Regions from separate parts of the Homo sapiens genome. Here region 1 is linked to region 2. Evidence: promoter capture Hi-C in 16 types of primary human blood cells and fetal thymus (Javierre and others, 2016). All regions are on one chromosome and are shown on one strand. The core of a region is centred on a gene start or on the middle of the fragment in contact, and the rest is flanking DNA. Distances in the headings are between cores, read along the strand shown. Region 1 has its middle 120 kb from the start of CDKN2B. Region 2 holds the start of CDKN2B-AS1 (CDKN2B and CDKN2A antisense cis and trans regulatory RNA 1).

What was found. The method cuts DNA at HindIII sites, captures the fragments that hold promoters and counts their contacts. A CHiCAGO score of 5 or more calls a contact.
Region 1: a fragment that was not itself captured here is called in contact with the fragment with the promoter of CDKN2B-AS1 in region 2 in 1 of 17 cell types (M2 macrophages); the score reaches 5.1 in M2 macrophages.

What each region holds. Positions count from the first base shown.
Region 1 is chr9:22,126,574-22,133,204 of GRCh38, forward strand. It overlaps a transcript of CDKN2B-AS1 not described here. Among named protein-coding and RNA genes, the nearest start is that of CDKN2B, 120 kb to the left of the region's middle. The HindIII fragment of the contact is 3,268 bases long and covers 2,151-5,418 here.
Region 2 is chr9:21,989,987-21,996,040 of GRCh38, forward strand. CDKN2B-AS1 (CDKN2B and CDKN2A antisense cis and trans regulatory RNA 1) reads left to right here and starts at 4,805. Exons shown (of 19, transcript NR_003529.4): 1 at 4,805-5,175. It overlaps LOC124902130 (a long non-coding RNA gene), which reads right to left and starts at 4,042. Exons shown (of 2, transcript XR_007061436.1): 1 at 3,900-4,042; 2 at 1-2,494. It also overlaps a transcript of CDKN2A not described here. RefSeq lists an enhancer at 1-52 and silencers at 4,479-4,738, 5,059-5,258. The HindIII fragment of the contact is 17,311 bases long and covers 1,212-6,054 here.

The sequences.
Region 1 (6,631 bases), core at 2,535-5,034, 140 kb after region 2:
CTTTTTTTTTTTTTTTTTTTTTGAGACGGAGTCTCGCTCGCCCAGGCCGACTGCAGTGGCGCTATCTCGGCTCACTGCAAACTCCGCCTCCGGAGTTCACGCCATTCTCCTGCCTCAGCCTCCCGAGTAGCTGGGACTACAGGCGCCCGCCACTGCACCCGGCTAATTTTTTGTATTTTTAGTAGAGACGGGGTTTCACCATGTTAGCCAGGATGGCCTGGATCTCCTGACCTCGTGATCAGCCCGCCTCGGCCTCCCAAAGTGCTGGGATTACAGGCGTGAGAAGTGAGTGAATTCTAAGGAGTATCGAGAACAGTGATTAAAACAGAAGGTGGGGAGGTGTCATAAGCTTATTTGTAGGTGAAGTATTAAGACTAGAAGAATGACATTATGCATCAAATCTTTTACATTGTTTGATCTCTTTTACCTAAAAACAAAACAAGATACTTTTTTGTTGTTTGACATATGACCAATTAGCAGCCAGTTGGAGCTAAATGTTTTCTTTTTTCTTTTTCTTTTCTTTTTTTAGATGTAGTGTCACTCTGTCGCCCAGGCTGGAGTGCAGTGGCGTGATCTCGGCTCACTGCAACCTCTGCTACCCAGGTTCAAGCGATTCTCCTGCCTCAGCCTCCCAAGGAGCTGGGATTGCAGGCACCTGCCACCACGCCCAGCTAATTTTTGTAGTTTTGGTAGAGATGGTGTTTCACCATTTTGGCCAGGCTGGTCTTAAACTCCTGACCTTGTGATCCACCTGCCTTCGCCTCCCAAAGTGCTGGTATTACAGGCATGAGCCACTGTGCCCAGCCTAAATGTTTTCTTTAAAAGCAAGGTAAGTATGCCTAGATGCACTGCCTCTTAGTAATTTTTGAGGATGGATTATTCATTAAATTGCTTCCCTTTCTCACAGCTGGTGAATTAGAACGATAGTGAGCTTACAAGAGCTTTAACGAGGAAAAGATGGTCATTGTTTAACAGAGAAGGATGGTTTGGGTGAGCATTTTTGTGTTTTTGGAGGGGAACTTTGAGGGCAATGAGTGTTGCACCTGTGTCCACTGAGGATCTCTGGGCGGGGTAAAAGGAAGGCAGGGATGAGAGTGAGGAAGGGAGACAGGAGGGTCCCAAATACGAACTTTGACTTAACGAGGATGATTACTAGAAGGGAAAGATTGTGGATTCATTGATGAGATGTTGAACCATGAAAACTCTAATTGTAGAACTCACTTCAGACTGAATTGACTTGGCTTTCAGTAGCAGAAGCCCTTTGTCTACTTCTCTAGTATTGAAGTGAATGCAAATTTCTCAATGTAAGAAAAGTAGAGTGGTGAAATAAGAGTGTGGGTTCCAGGGTCAGACAACTGGGTGCATAAAAAGGGTAAGGATGCTACAACTGGTAAGCCCTGTGAGAATTATTTAATCCTTCCATGTCTCATTCCGCTCATCTGGAAAATGATGATCATACTAACTTATGAGATGTGTGTACAGACTAGATATAATATTAAAACATTTCTGATACCTATGCATTATATTGGATCAATATATATTTGCAATAAATGATCAACTTTTTATTAATGAAGTTAGTACTTATTTCATAACGAGATTGTTTACTTCTAATTTACTAGTATTGTCATTATTACTGTTGCTGTTATACTGCTACTGCTGTTGCTACTAACTCTTTATGAAGTACCTAATATGCTCTAAGCCTTGCTCTAGGTGTTGTATATGAAGTATTTCTAAACCTGAAAACTATCTAAGATGGCTCAGTCTAGCCCATTTTATAGACGAAGACTGAAGCCAAGAGAGTTGAAATAATGAGTAAAGTTGAGATTTGACTTTGTCTTCCAAACAACTAGAAGCATAAAGCAATGGACCAGGTTCCAAAGTGACAGGGAGGGGCATTAGTTTGGCCCATAGGCTGCAGAGCCTGTGACCACAGAGCCCTATATATTCCAGTGGTGAATTATGTTTGGGAATGTGGCAGACCATATGGCTATGGCATCGTTAGACATGAGGTGGAGAGAGGCAGATGTGTGGTTACTCGATTGAGTTGAGAGATGCCATGGAAAGGAGGAAGAAGAGCCTGAGAGAGCAACTTCACTCATGGGGAGAGAAGCTTATGTGGAGATAAGCTTCACTTCACTAATGGGGAGATAAGCTTCACTTATGGGGAGACAAGTAAGGAAGCAGGGATCTCCAGAGGATGTGGAGTATGCCTGGTACTTTCATTGTTCTTTTTCCTTATTCTTCTTTATTCTTTTCATTATTTTACCTAGGTTAGATGTTAAACACTTCCTGTTGTTTAGTCAGGCTTCCTTTTCTAATTATAAGACTAAACACTAAGATTTCATTTGTAGATATAATTATTAGAGAATTTTGATAAAATTTCCAAGCAGTGTTCCCTCTGTTTATCATCGTGTTCCCTGCTGTTATTAGTTCACAGTTTGGTCTGGAATTACTCCAGTTAATCTTGGGGTTTCAGGAGAGAAATTGTGCTCAGGGTACATGAGAAGAGAAAGTTTAGAAAGCGAAGGGCTTCCCTGTCTAGTTTCTAGCTCAGAAAAGCAAAGATATTCTACTTTCATATGTATGATAATTGGAGCTGAGCTGACTTTAAAAACAGATAATTTTTCTTTTTTATCCCTAATAAATAATGGTGCTTACAGCAATGAGTGTTGCTGGTAACAGATTCCACCAATGGGTGTGGTGTGAAGTTTAGCATTTGTGGATTTTGCAGCTTCTGCTATTGTCTACAGCATTTCCTCTCTTGTCTCGGAGGTTCATACTTTCTCAGGCAAGGACACTTTTAACTCCAGATAAATGTCTGGGTTTTCTCACTCCAAGGATAAGAAGGTGGGGGTGATGGAGTGGTGGTGGTAGTTGTGGAGTTGTCTTCCTGGCAGGGATTTCATTGTGGGGGAAAGTCTGTCTTTAGAAAAGAAATGTAAACTGGGCAAGTAGTCTCATCAGTTAAATGATTTCCTTGTTGACATAAGGTGAGGAAAAGAAGAACAACTTTTGGGAAAAGTAACTGTGAGAATACAAGGGAAGAAGAAAAATAAGGGGTTGAACATTGAGGAAGACTTATGAGACAGATAAAGTATAAAGGCAGGTAATTTGTTCTTTCAATTTGGCATGGGGACAGTAAAAATTTTTTCTTACTAAACAAATAAAGCCCATGTATTTCTTCTGCTCTGGGAGCACCAATTATATTGAGCCTCTAAATAAAGAAAGTCAACATCCACAAGTGTTCTAAATTCCATCTCGTAGTGAGAGTCCTGAAAATTGCAATAGCTAGAGTCAATACTTGGAGTATATGCATAAGACGTGGTGTCTCAAATAGGATTAAGGCCTACTCTTGGCATCTTCTGTTATTGGTGTTGTTTCTCTGTATTGATTGGTATAACGTTAGACAAAACTGCAGGTCATCTTTGAGAAAAACTCAGTATAAACAATGAAAAAAATGTGTAGCTGCACATGTAATTTGCATGTAACAAAACCAAAGGATGCTTTAGATAGTAACAGCAGCCTGTACTTTACTCCAACCCATTAGTTTTATGATAAATGTGGTCTGGGGAAGTGCTCGATCTAGGTTGTTCACTTTGTGTTTTTGTTTCTTTCTATCATTCGGGTGTTGAGTCACCTGTTTGTCTGTGTCAGTGTCAGAGCACTGGGTCACATCCTGCATTGTCCAGGTTTTATTGGTCCCTTTCTTAAATTAAAGCTGATTTTCCACTTAAAGAGAATTCTGTCTCCTTCTGCAATTGTTCAAAGTCTAGCATCTCAAGTGCAGACTCTAAACTGTATGTATATGTATTGTGCAGGCTATCTATCTTCTTAGCTTTGAATTCTCTAGAAATATTCCAGAGGTGTGATTCCTCTGTTATTCAAGAGTGATTTCCAAATTGCCTCAGCCAATGTGCCTGCACAAGTTGTTTGTAACTCAGGGTGTAATGGGAAATGCTTTAGAGCCACATTTGTGGCTTTTGATGGGAAAAAAAAAAAATCAGTGTCCTCCTAAGACTTATACAGTCCTTGAAGCCTTTTAGGCTATTCCTGCATCTCATGTTGCATCCATACGGACTATTTAGCCATATTCAACACCATCCTCTTGCTATTTTGTTAAGATTTGACTGTTGTTGTTGTTGTTTTTAAATATAAATGTGTGATCACATGCACATACACAGACAATGATGTGTAACTCATAAACATGAAAAGTAAAAATTTGAATTTTAACTGAAGAAAAATCAGCATTATTCATAAAAAGCTGGTAAGATATTCTAAAAGTGGAAATTCATGCAGAAAATTGATTCTTAAGCACTTACTAAATGCCAGGAATATTTTACCAGCATATTATCATTTAATTTTTAAACAAGTTTGAGAGATAGAGATGTCTTATTTTATAGAAGAGGCAACTGGGGTTCTGAAATGTGAAATAACTTGCAAAGGCTATGGTTAAGGGCAGGGCCAGCCACGTGTCTAGTGTCTCTGACACCTGAGATCACACACTGTATGCTGGGCTTCAATTAATTTGCAGCTACTTGTTGCATTAAATTCACAATCCTTGCTTTCATCATAATAAAAACAATAATAATCATACAACACAACTATTTTCAGTGAGCTCTGGCTAAGGCCATTTGATTCAGAGTCAAAACCTTCTATTTGTATAGTATTTTATATTGTCAAAATCTAATAAGGATAGTTTTCATATCTGACGTAAACCAAACTGATCTGTCTCCATTTGATATAGTGACATATCAAATTGTTACTTTCATATATCTTAGTCAACCTCTATGTTTATCATTCTCTATGTTTTAGAAAGTAAAGAATTTAAAATTACTTCAGAAAGATTTCTTCTTCATAAACATAAAATGATTAGATGTCCCTTTTAAAGGCAACAGCTTCTTCTTTTTCTTTTTTCTTTTCTTTTTTTTTTTTTTTTTTTTTGAGAAGGAGTCTGGCTCTGCCGCCCAGGCTGGAGTGCAGTGGCGCCATCTCGACTCACTGCAAGCTCCACCTCCCGGGTTTAAGCCATTCTCCTGCCTCAGCCTCCCGAGTAGCTGGGACTGCAGGCGCCTGCCACTACGCCTGGCTAATTTTTCGTATTTTTAGTAGAGACGGCGTTTCACCGTGTTAGCCAGGATGGTCTGGATCTCCTGACCTCGTGATCCGCCCGCCTTGGCCTCCCAAAGTGCTGGGATAACAGGCGTGAGCCACCGCGCCCGGCCAAGGCAACAGTTTCTTAATGAGAGAGTAGAAATGAGAATTCACATTCATAACAAAGAGTTTATTGTCTTTCCTAGTATACTGTACTATCTAGTAGCTAATCTGTCTAAAGACATGTTTCTTATCTATTAATAGTCCTATTAATAATGTAAAGTAGCTTTAGATATGCCAAGCTGTTACTGGCTGGGGAACTAAAAAAGCTTCCAGAGTTATATCTAGAAAGTCTTTGGGGTTTCTTAATGTTATGTGATTAGCAACTAAAACTGTGACAGGAAGGAAGTCCACATGAATTGAGCATCTACTAGTTTCAAGATTTATCATTATGCACATTACTTATAATAACTTTGTGAAGCTGATATTAACTTTACAATGGATAAAAAGATAGATGAATTAGTAATTTACCTCCAGTGGTGCAGACAGCAGGATTTGAATTTAGTCTGTCCAACACCAAAGCCTCCGTACTTTTCATTACCCTGCATCCATCTAGTTTAAAAAATAAATGTACTAGGCATAGTGGCTTGCACCTGCAATCCCAGCTGCTTGGGAGGTTGAGGCCAGAGGATCACTTGAGCCCAGAAGTTCAAGGCTGCAGTGAGTTATGAGCACACAACTGCACTCCAGCCTGGGTGATAGACAGACCCCATCTCAAAAAAAAAAAAAAAAAAAAAAAAAGAGAGAGAGAAAATAAAAGAAAAATCGAATGTATTGCATTTCATGTCTGGACCACCTGTATGAGAAAATTGGGCACTTTCTCTCTGAAGTAACTCATACTAAAAACAAACACCTTCTTCCTCCCAGGAGCTTCCCAAGGTTGAAGAGAGGAACCCTGAAGCTCTAATATGCCTAAGATGCTCTCTGGTGTTATCTAAAATCAAAATATATCACCTAGAGCACTTATTTATTTATTTATTTATTTTTGAGATGGAGTCTAGCTCTATCACCCAGGCTGGAGTGCAATGGCATGATCTCGGCTCACTGCAACCTCCGCCTCCCAGGTTCAAGCCATTCTCCTGCCTCAGCCTCTGGGATTATAGGTGCACGCCACCATGGCCGGCTAATTTTTGTATTTTTAGTAGAGATGGGGTTTCACCATGTTGGTCAGGCTGGTCTCGAACTCCTGACCTCGTGATCCGCCCACCTTGGCCTCCTGAAGTGCTGGGATTACAGGCGTGAGCCACCACGCCCGGCCAGAGCACTTTTTTTTCTTAATTTTTTATGATGGAAAATTTCAAGCATACATTAAGTAGAGAAAATAGTATAATGAACAACTGAATACTTAAATCTGGCTTCAATAATTTCTAATTTTATGTTCTGTCTAATGTTGACATAAAGTATAGTTTGTATGTATTTGGTGGTGAGTACATAATGGGCCACATGATTTTTACCTTTTAGGCTGTAGTTCTACATCAGT
Region 2 (6,054 bases), core at 3,555-6,054:
CCAGGAGGAGGATGGTGGGGGCTGAGGAGTGGAGGAGCAGCGTGCATCTCATCTCTTGTCGCCGGGCGGGCGCTCTTTCGGGTCCAGGGCCCTTGCACCCCCAGCGTGGCTCCGGAGGCGGCGAGACCTGCCTGAAATTGATTGGAGGGGACTAGAGTGTGCTTGTGGGGTGGGGTAGTGGGGGCGGAGAGAAGAGATCCCAAGAAGGGCGCCAAGTGCTGTGACCAGAGGCCTAACACGAGGCACCTTGGAAACAGGTATAGCTACGGATTTATGGGTTTTAAAATGGAACGTCTTGGTGAATGGACATAGCGTGCATTTCACAGTCTGACGTCACAGCCCTCGCAGGTTTTCCCAGACCTTAAAGCCACGTTCTCGTGTATGACACTTAAACAACTCAGTTTCCTTGTCTTTCCTCCCTCCCTACCCATCTAAGGGTAGAGAAGCTCTTAGTTCATCCACTGTGTAGGACTGTTACCGTGTGTCAAAGGCTTTGGAAATGTATATTTTACTGATGATGGTCATAGCACTTTGGAAAACTCAAAAGTGAAACGAAGAAAATAAATATCACCAAACTTTTTCCCAACCCCTCTCATCCTGCGGAAACCATTATAACTAATTTGGTGAGAGAGAGAGAGAGAGAGAGAGAGAGAGAGAGAGAGAGAAACTGTTTACTGTTTGGAATCTTGCTTTAAAAAAACCTGACTTTATAATGCAATCATTTAACAGTCTATGAAATATTCTTCAGATACCTGATGATCCAGAATGTAACTGTACCATAATTTAACACTTTATTGCTAGAATTTTATGCAGTTTTTGATTTCTTGCTACTACTTATCCATCTGTATTAATCTTTGTCAGAACCTTTCTTTCCTTAGGATGATGCCTGAATATAAAATAGCTGAATGAAAGTGGATGGGTTCATTTTAAAATACAAAATTGTTTTTCTTGATGGTGAAGTGTTTAAGAGGTGGATTAATCTCATTGGGCAACAAATAGAGAAGATATTAGTAGTTAGGTATATGAGAATCAGAATTCAGATAATTTGTCTTAAAAATTCATATTCAATGTAAAAATTTTATATTTAGAAAATGAAACTGTACCCATTGTTTATATAACTTAAACTGCCAAAATAAAGCACCACAAAAACTTTTTATCACGTTGGTTTTTGTATCAGGCTGGGCTTTGCAGCAGATGGAGGAGCTAGGGCAAGCTTGTCCAACCTGTGGGCCCGAGGGTCACATGCAGCCCAGGATGGTTTTGAATGCTGCCCAACACAAATTCATACACTTTCTTAAAGTATCATGAGTTTTTTTTTTTTTTTAAGCTCATCAGCTATTGTTAGTGTTAGTGTATTTAATGTGTGTCCCAAGACAATTCTTCTTCTTCCTATGTGGCCCAGGGAAGGTAAAAGATTGAACACCCCTGGCCTACAGTGTTCTACTATGAAGTTTCAGTTTTAGTTCGGCCTAGAATGTTTTAGTACAGAAGGCAAGTGAGATTTTCTCTGTTTCTCCAAGGACTTTTGAAAAAGTGTAAAAGCACTGGGCCCACTGTTGAACCTTGCTATAAAAAAGTATTTTTGATACCATTTGTATCACTTTAGTAATAGGAGTTTTTCATATGTTGGGAAAATGGTTTAGCTTAACTCTATCATGGTAGTTGATAGTGATGAACTAACGTGGAATAATAGATCTGTAAACCATCATAGACGGTAATAGGCTATGTTGTTGCTACCTTAGGATCATAATGGACTTTCTAAAATTCAAGAGTACTCAAAGAAGTAAAATGAATATAAGTCTTGATTTCTGAAAGGGCTATGGTTCACTTGGAACACAATACAAACTGTGAATCATGTACACATGGGGAATAATGGTTTATACTAACTGCACAGTGCTTACCTTGAGAGGACTCTGTGCTATTAAAGAAAAAAATAACCTGAGCCTTCTGAAGTAGCTATAAACAAATGAATATTTAACTTCATAATAAAAATATGACTATTTTGTAAATGCACCAAGGTAGAAGTAACAAATCAACTATGGCAATTTTTCAGGTTTCTGTGGTTAAGAAACTGGTAACGTGGAATTTTAGTATATGTATTTCCAATCATATAAAAATAAAAAGTCATAATAAACATATTTGCAGAAACTTAAAAAAAGTTAAAATAACATCTTATTTGCAATGATATTAAATAATTCATACAAGTAATTTTTAGCACTTGTGCCTCTCAAGGAATTGTATGAATCCTAACATAATTAGTATCCATATATATTCCCAAATCAATATAGCCATGGGCATAAAATATATTAATGTGAAATATATAATTACATATCATTATAATTAACACCGCTAGATTTTATATTATGTATATCATTTTACATATGAAATTGGAAAATTGCATATATTTCAAGACATTCTATCCAAGCTGTGTTCTATCTTGAGAAACTTCCTGAAGATTGCGCTTTTCACATACGTCCTGAAAATTGATTTATACCTAAATAACAAAAAATGATCTATTTCAATGAACCTATCATTTAAATATTTTTGCATTTCATGCATATACATTAACATACTATAAAATATTTTCTCTAACTTAAAATCACCACAATGTTATGTTTTATAGGCCTAAACTAAAAAATACATAATTATGGCATTTATATACATTGACATGTTCTACTTTGTTACTACAGATTTTCAGAGGCAACTTAATAATTTAAACAAAATGATTTTATATAGAATAATATTAACTAGAGTAATAAATATTTTTATATAGACAATAATATTAAGAACTATATTCATACAGTTACCGGTCACAGTGGCTAAACTTTTGCTGATACGGATAAACCACTGTTAAAAAAAACAACAACCAGGGTCTTGTCAATGTTTCAAAATGAATTAAAATCAAATCCAGCAACAGGCCCTGAAATCCTTTATAAGCTCCTTTGACTAAATTAAAAAAATTAACTTGCATAATATGAAAAGTAAAAAATAAAATGTGCATTTATCCTATAGATTATAAATTTTTGCTAATAGAAATTGAGACACTAAATTAAACACTGATAGTTTTAACAGGTTTATATTTCCATGTCAAAGAGACAATTAACATTGCAGTAAAAAAATAATTACCCCTCCGCTGGCCTTTGCTTTTTGAAGCTATATATTCCTGGCGAAGCATACCACAAGGACGGTCATAAAAGTGAAGCCTCATTAAATTACTTTTAGACTTATTACACAAGTTTTAATTAGCATTGTACATATTTTAACTGTACATATATTCTTTCAGTTTTCCTGGTTATAGGAAATTACACTGGCTGTGTCAACATTTGTCAATGTGAGGACAAAACTACCTTGGATTCTGTTTTTCAAGAAGTAGGCCTCATTTTTAAACTGTGCTAACTGTCGTCTGAGATGACTAAAATACTATCAGTTGGGATTTCTCAGGAACAGTTCTACAGTTCTGTCGTTTGCTAAACATACGAGCATTGTCCCGAGCAGTTTCAATCACTCAGGCCGCCGGACCTCTACCTCTAACTCACAAAGAAAGCCCATTTCCCTGTTGGCTGCAAAACTCCCCCAAGAAGCAAGTGCTTGCTCCTCGCAGCAGTAACTGATCCTACGATCCTTGTTAGCATTTCAGGAAGTCGCTGCCTGCGTGCCCCGTATCTCACGGGTCCTCCACTCTCCTGGAAGGTGGGAGAGGGTGACCCCGCCGGGAGGCTGGGGAGAAAAAAGGCCGCCTCCAGAAAACTTAGATGGTTAGCAATAATTCTCCCCAAGGAGAAAGAAAGTGTGCTTGAAATACACCTTTCCTACTGTGTGTGTGTGTGTGTGTGTGTGTGTGTGTGTGTGTGTGTGTGTGTCTTAGTCATTCCCACCCAGGATATTCGGGACTCACTGACTTCTGAGGTGGGTTTAGAAGCTCTGTTCGCCTCAGTTTCCCACGATTGAGGGGCTGTGTGAAGGGAGGTCCAGGTTCAATGGTACTGCGAGAACCACATGTCTAAGTCGTTGTAACCCGAATGGGGAAGCCTCCACCGGCGGTTATCTCCTCCTCCTCCTAGCCTGGGCTAGAGACGAATTATCTGTTTACGAAATCACACCAAACAAAACAAGTGCCGAATGCGCCCCGGACTTTTCGAGGGCCTTTCCTACCTGGTCTTCTAGGAAGCGGCTGCTGCCCTAGACGCTGGCTCCTCAGTAGCATCAGCACGAGGGCCACAGCGGCGGGCGCCCCTGGCGCTGCCCACTCCCCCGTGAGCCGCGGGATGTGAACCACGAAAACCCTCACTCGCGGCGGGCCGCACGCGCGCCGAATCCGGAGGGTCACCAAGAACCTGCGCACCATGTTCTCGCCGCCTCCAGGGCCGAGCTCGGCAGCCGCTGCGCCGCCCTTTGGCACCAGAGGTGAGCAGCGCCACTCCTGCCCCCTTAACTGCAGACTGGGACCCACGCACCGCCCCCTGCCCATCTCCGCCCCGCAGGCGCGCACCCGCCTTCCCTGAGCGCGCCCGCCCCCCACCTTCACCCCCACCCCCACCCCACCCCCACTCCCACCCGGACCTCCAAGATCTCGGAACGGCTCTGAGCCCTGCGCACGCGGGAAGGGCTGCCGGAGGCGCCCGTAGGGAGGCGCGCGCGCGGGCGGCTCAGGGCCCGCGTTCCTCTCCCTCCCGCCTACCGCCACTTTCCCGCCCTGTGTGCGCCCCCACCCCCACCACCATCTTCCCACCCTCAGCGCGGGCGCCCCGCGGTGACGGCCCAGGGGCCGGACGCCTGGAACGCAACTCCAGGCAGCTCGCCCCCTAGCTACATCCGTCACCTGACACGGCCCTACCAGGAACAGCCGCGCTCCCGCGGATTCTGGTGCTGCTCGCGTCCCCGCTCCCCTATTCCCCTTATTTTATTCCTGGCTCCCCTCGTCGAAAGTCTTCCATTCTTCAAACTAGATTATTTAAAAATGAAAAAGGAAGAAAGGAAAGCGAGGTCATCTCATTGCTCTATCCGCCAATCAGGAGGCTGAATGTCAGTTTTGAACTAAAAGCCGCTCCGCTCCTCTTCTAGATTTGGAAAACAAGCGAAATTAAACTAAACCGCTGCACGCCTCTGACGCGACATCTGGACACGGCGCGGCGCTGGCGCTGCCGGAGCTGTCGACCCGGCCTGGCGCCGGACTAGGTAGGTGGAGTCGCACCCGGGGGTCCCAGCTGGGTCCGGGCGCCCATTCCCCTCCCAGCTGCCCGCGTCGCCGAGGGCGCCTGGCTGGGACAAGCACCGAGTCCTTTGTGTCTAGCCCATTTTTATTTTCGGTTTTAACCTTCACGACAGCCGCGGAGCATCTGAGCGCTTCTTCCTCTTTCCTCTTCCCCCGCGCTCCCCTCCCCTGCTGGCCGCTCCCCTCCTGTCGCCGCGTCCTCGCGTAGAATGGTTGTCTTGGCGACCGTTGGCCGCTGCCGCCTCCACGCTCTGCCCCGCGCCCAGACACCCCGACTCCCCTTGATCCCGCCGCCTGACTCCTCGGCGTACGTTCTCTCTCCGGTCTCCCCCTCCATGTCCCCTCCTCCCCTTTTCTTCCACATCACCGATCCTTTCTGGACTCTCTCCCTTCCTCCTTTCCAGCTGGGAGACAGGAAAAGCGGTCCTGTTTGGGAACAGTAAAAGCAGGGCAAGGAAAGGAAGGAGCGGCAGAAAGGAGGGGTGAGTCGAGGACACAGGGGCAGCCGGAGAATGCGGAGGAGCCGGGTCCTGAGCGCGGTCTAAGCGAGGCTCGGCTCTCGTCCAGGAACTCGGACGCGGGCTCGCCGGCTCTCCGCGCGCGGGAAGTCGAGCCCAGGACGCCGCCTTCAGGCCGGCGCGCTGACCCGGTGCCCCGACCCGGAGCCTGCGGTCTGCCTGGATCCGTCCTAAACCTCGCGGGCTGGACCCGCGGCCTGAGTGGGTGGGTGTGTGCCAGAGGATTCGGGACTAGGCCCAGCTCCGGGAACCTGGAAATGTGGCCCGCTTCTCAGTGGCTTCCTGTTCATGCGCTTGGGCCTAGTGGCCTAGTTGAAGAAGTGG